Regions from separate parts of the Homo sapiens genome. Here region 1 is linked to region 2. The links are contacts of gene promoters, found by promoter capture Hi-C in blood cells and fetal thymus (Javierre and others, 2016). All regions are on one chromosome and are shown on one strand. The core of a region is centred on a gene start or on the middle of the fragment in contact, and the rest is flanking DNA. Distances in the headings are between cores, read along the strand shown. Region 1 overlaps TEX48 (testis expressed 48). Region 2 holds the start of DELEC1 (deleted in esophageal cancer 1).

The links. Contacts are between HindIII fragments. The CHiCAGO score rates a contact against its expected background, and 5 or more counts as called.
Region 1: a fragment that was not itself captured here is called in contact with the fragment with the promoter of DELEC1 in region 2 in 1 of 17 cell types (M0 macrophages); the score reaches 5.6 in M0 macrophages.

The regions. Positions count from the first base shown.
Region 1 is chr9:114,665,405-114,668,124 of GRCh38, forward strand. It overlaps TEX48 (testis expressed 48), which reads right to left. Exons shown (of 5, transcript NM_001199233.2): 5 at 1,030-1,342. The coding sequence ends at 1,239. Among named protein-coding and RNA genes, the nearest start is that of TEX53, 9.0 kb to the left of the region's middle. The HindIII fragment of the contact is 802 bases long and covers 948-1,749 here.
Region 2 is chr9:115,140,305-115,143,086 of GRCh38, forward strand. DELEC1 (deleted in esophageal cancer 1) reads left to right here and starts at 1,514. Exons shown (of 8, transcript NR_163556.2): 1 at 1,514-1,564. The HindIII fragment of the contact is 2,096 bases long and covers 1,170-2,782 here.

The DNA.
Region 1 (2,720 bases), core at 99-2,598, 480 kb before region 2:
ATTGGGAGAGCCTAAACAGTTGCTGAGGGCATGAGGAAACAGGTATCTCAGATATCATATACTCTTACAGAACAGAACTTGGCAGCATCTAACAAAACTGTATATATCTTTTCCATTTGGCTCAAAAGTCCATGCTGAAAAATTAACCCTAAAGATACACCGTATTAATCCGTTCTCATGCTGTTAATAAAGATATACCTTGGCCTGGCACAGTGGCTCACGCCTGTAATCCCGCACTTTGGGAGGTTGAGGAGGGCGGATCACCTGAGGTCAGGAGTTCGAGACCAGCCTGGCCAACATGGTGAAACCCCATCTCTACTAAAAATACAAAAATTAGCCAGGCCTGGTGGCAGGCACTTGTAATCCCAGCTACTCGGGAGGCTGAGGCAGGATTGAACTGAGTTCAATCACTTGAACTCAGGAGGCGGAGGTTGCAGTGAGCTGAAATGGTGCAAATGGGGAAAATGTAGATTAAACAATTGGTGACTCTGGGTAAAAGGTAAATGGGAGTTCTCTGTATTATTCTTGTGACATTTCTGTAAATTTGGAATTATTTCAGAAGGTATCCAAAAAGCTGTTTTCTCCTTCCTCTCTCTCTCTTTTTTCTTTCTTCCCTTCCCCCTTCCCCCTTCCCTTCCTTTCTTTCTTTCACGGAGTCTCACTCTGTTACCCAGGCTGGAGTGCAGCGGCGAGATCTCAGCTCATTGCAACCTCTGCCTCCTGGGTTCAAGTGATTCTCCTGCCTCAGCCTCCCTAGTAGCTGAGATTACAGGAGCACGCCACCACACCTGGCAGATTTTTTTATTTTTAGCACAGATGGGGTTTCACCGCATTGGCCAGGCTGGTCTTGAACTTATGACCTCATGTGATCCACCTGCCTCGGTCTCCCAAAGTGTTGGGATTACAGGCGTGAGCCACTGCGCCCAGCCAATAGGCTAAATTTTTTAAGCTTAGTTAGATGTGACAATATATTTAAAAATAATAAGACATTAGTTGGTAAGGGGGAAAGGAAAAGAGAAGGACACATCCTCTGGTGCAATCAAGAACTTTAATTGGAGGCAGCTCTTCCCATGGTGGCTTTTTAGGAGCTGGAGTGACTCTTGCTTGGTGGCACAAGGATGGCTCAGATGTCTTCTCCTCCTTCAGGGGAGTTTCCGAATTAGTCTTCATGACTCCTGTCCACCGCCCTCTTCCTCATGGAGATGCCCCAGCAGCTGTGCAGCCGCCGGCTAGAATGCTCAGGGCCTCCCAGTGAGGCATGGCTGGAATGGCCAGTGCTCCTGGCAGTAGCGGTTTAAGTTTCTCTTGTAAAAATTTCTTTGGGAAGCATATGCATTCAGATCTGAAAGAAGAAAGGAAAAAATTATGCTGGGTGAAGGCCTTTGAATTGGGCTTTGATGAACTGTTTTGGTTGTTTGTATCCATTGCTGATCATTCCTCAGCTTCTTGAATCTCAAGGGACCCAAGGCAGACCCTAGTCTAGGACTTGGAAGTCTTTTGTGATAGGAGGAGTTTCTTGCAGTGTATTTTGCATTGTGTTACGTTGGTGGCTTCAGTGACAGTAGGCTGTCTTGCAAAGCACAGTGATATGGAAGGTAGGAGACTTGGGCCCATCCTGGCTCTGACACTTACGTCATTCCCTAGTGCACTCGTGGGAAGTCCCTTTCCCTCTGTGAGCCTCACCCCTATGGGGGGGTGGGAAGGGCAGAAGGAAGGAGTGGGCGAGCTAGTGGGGTTCCTACCTTCTCAAGCTTGATTCAAGCAGAGCTGTTCCTCTTTGATCTTTTATAGAAAATGGACTCTGTGAAATGCTGTTTTCAAGGGGGTTTAGTTGTTAGGGGAATTCAAAATGACTGGGTTGGATAATCCTTAGTTCTCAACAGGACTCCTGGGGTGGTTGTGAGTTATGTGAGACCACCTGGGGATAGAACTGGCGCCCAGCAATGTGGCTGCATTTCTTCTTCCTGGGCTGTGCCACTGTCCTGGGATTGGGCATCTGTTCTTCTGTGACCCAGAGGCATTTCACCCCCAGTTGAACTACACTCAATCCACAAGTGTTTTCTGGCATTGTTTACTTGCCATGCACCTGGCTGGATCTGGGGGCATAACAGGGAATAAAACTGATGTGGGCCCCTGCCCTCCTGGCACTTACTGTCTAGTGGCCAAAGTAGACATCAAGTAAGCATATGAAAAATACACGTGTAAGATGATGCCGCCAGGTGCGGTGGTTACACCTGTAATCCCAGCACTTTGGGAGGCCAAGGTAGGTGGATCACTTGAGGTCAGGAGTTCGTGACCAGCCTGGCCAACATGGTGAAACCCTTTTTCTACTAAGAATACAAAAATTAACCAGGCATGTTGGTGGGCGCCTGTAATCTCAGCTACTCAGGAAGCTGAGACAGGAGAATCACTTGAACCTGGGAGGTGGAAGTTGCAGTGAGCTGAGATTGGAGACTGCACCACTGCACTCAAGCCTAGACAACAGAGGGAGACTCCATCTCAAAAAAAAAAAAAAAAAAAAAAGATGATGCCACAAAGCTTTGAAAGGAAAGCATGGATGTTTGCCCTTCCCCCCAGACCTGCTCCTTCTCATGCACTTCCTAGCTTGGAAGATAGTGGAGTCAGGTCTTAGCCTCTAGGGTCTCCCCAGTGTGCTCTGGAATATGACTGGGGCTGCTTGATGGGAGCAATTCCATCTCCCCATCTCGCTTAGCTGAAGT
Region 2 (2,782 bases), core at 264-2,763:
AAATGCTTCTCTGAATGAGGTGAACTTTTTAAAAAATTAGGCCATATGTCTGCTGAGGAATATTCATTATTGCTAACGTGAGATGGTATTTCATAAATTTTATTTACTTTTCATTTTTTGGTTGTAAGCACTGAGAAACCTATTCACAAAAATAAGTAGATGGGAAAAGAAAAACTTTTCTTATAGCAGTGTTATAACTTCTTACCAGGTTGTATGCCAAAAATCACATAAAGATCAATCATCAAATAGGATTTTTAATACTTTCTCAGGTGACATTTTAATTAGGTTCCCCTTCAGTTTTGTTGTAACTAAAGCATTGAAAGTCATCTGACTTGCAGAATGATTTGCTGCAAGGTCATTAGTCATTCACTTTCTCAACACTTTTTCTCGAAAGAATTTTGAGTTGTACCTTTGTTTGGTCCCCCAGAAATTTTTATACCCCAAAGCAACTCGAGATGAGTGAGAGGTATGAATTCCATTTGTAAAGTGAGAGAAAAGCATTTACGAAAAAGGGACTCTCTTCAGATTCCTGAGAAAGAGTGCAAATGAAAGCTGAGAATCTGAAAATTTCCTTATCTCTGCCAACTAGAGCCCATGGAAAATCTTTGAGTAACTCTGGGGGTACTATGCATCACAGTCTGAAAATTATTATATGGGATGTACTTTCTATACTTAAATTAAATTTCCCCATGGAGGCAGCATTGTTATACAGGTGACAATGAGATAACAATGCAAAGAAACCAGAAGTCAAGTTCATATCGACTTATATAGCTCTGTCTCCATAAGTCAGAAACAGGAAAAATTAACTTGTTCTTCAGCAATCTAGGTTGACTTCATGAACGAGCTGGCGTTCAAATGAATCCTTGAATTGTGGAAACAGAATGTTAAATCTGGAATGAACTTCAGATATCATCTAGTATGGAGAGGACAATTAAATGTTGACTTTTACATCAATTTGGATTAAATATTTGTGATTGCTTACAATTCTGTGTCAAGAAGTAGTCAGAGGAATCATCTGAGATCTGTAGGAAAGCATGTTGTGATTGATTAGCTATGCCTGTCAGAGGAAGCAGGGAGAGAGGGGCACAGGTGATCTGCTCTTGCCCCCCTAGGTACATAGTCCTTATCACATGAACCACAGGGAAAACTGAGGCTGACTGAGAGCAGGAAGCTTGACCAAAACTCCACAGTGAATTATTGCCAGGATGGGTAGAATTACATATGTTTTATTCAACATTTGGTGGTCATTGTAAATTTGGTAACATTTGCAACTGGAAAATTTGGGGATGTTTTAGAGCTGGAAGGGAGCAAATTCTTAATTGAGCAATACACGCTGTCCTTTCTTTCAGGCTCCTTCACATTTGATCTCTGTGCAATTTGATAAGAGGAGGGAATGGGCCGTCAATTATGAAGAGACTGAAAACCTGAAAATACTGAGTATGGTCTTAGTTCCCTCTCCAAAGGGAGCTCAGGAAAAATGCCAAGCCATACAAGCCACTGATTACTCATCTAGCTATTGTTTCTACCTCACCCTGGCCCAGGAAGACAGATCTACTGAGGAAAGGTAATAGAGGCTGGCAAGGTTCCTACTTTTACATCTATCTGTAATATCCACTCATTCTTAGCATCTTGCACATCCACAGGGCCGTACAGGAGTCTTCTTGCCTTGTATTATTGAATCTTGGGATAGGGGTAGGAACAGACAGAGGTATTAGCAGAGATCCAACAGGATGTAAAACATACATGTTGATGCAGGGGTTAACTTTATGTATAATAAATAGATTTTTACCATGCATACCAAACTGAATATTCCTTCCTCCTTTTTCTCTCAGACCTCTTTCTATGTGTGGCTCATTCTTTTACTCTACAACATAATGTTCAGTTGATTCTGGACTTTTTCTGTGACAAACAATGCTGTAATAAACATCCTCCTTGTGCATTCATCTGGGTGCACTTCTGAGAATTTATCTGAAGGATAAATTCCTAGAAGTAGACTGTCTGTAACATAGGGTCTATGCACTTTCAATTTCCATAGATTCTGCCAAATGGTTTTCTTAAGAGGTTATACCAATTTACACTCTCAGCTATGGTATATGGTAACCCCTGCTTTCCCACAACCTGCCAACACTGGGTATTTACAAACATAAATAAATGGAGGGTTTGAATAATTGTAGTTTTGAATTAGACTTGGGGCGTCCCTCTCATCTGCCCCAACTTGTGTCTCCCCAAAGCAACCTAACTAGGGGATGGCTAATGCCATAGACTCTGAGGCTTACTCAGAGCAGAGGCTGAATGCTCCTGCTTCAGTGGGAACAGGGGGTGTTTCTTCAGTCTGTGCCCTACTTGGCATCTGTCCCTGACAGACCCAGCCAGTGTGGGGAGCCAGCCTCTCTAACCATAAGAAAGAATGGATTGGAAACAAATTGATCTTTTCACAGCTGGCTGTTCCCCTCTTTCCCCTCAACTTGGACTCAGCTCAGAACAAGGTTGCCGATGTTCTGCTGCAACAAAGATGGCATTATTGAGGACTGCCTCTTTGGGGGGAAATGTCCTTCTCCAAGAATCGCCTCTGTAGTTTCAACTATGACAAGCCTGGAGACCGAGCATAGCTGTGCATCTCCAAGGGTCTCCAAAGCGACACCCAACTCTATCCGTCCTGTTGATGACCATGTACTCTTCTATTGGTGTCCACAACTTTATTTAAATGATGTCAGATGACTCAATTCAACAGAATCTAACCCTTTATTCATCCTCCCTGGAGACCTGTGGTCAGTGGGCAGGA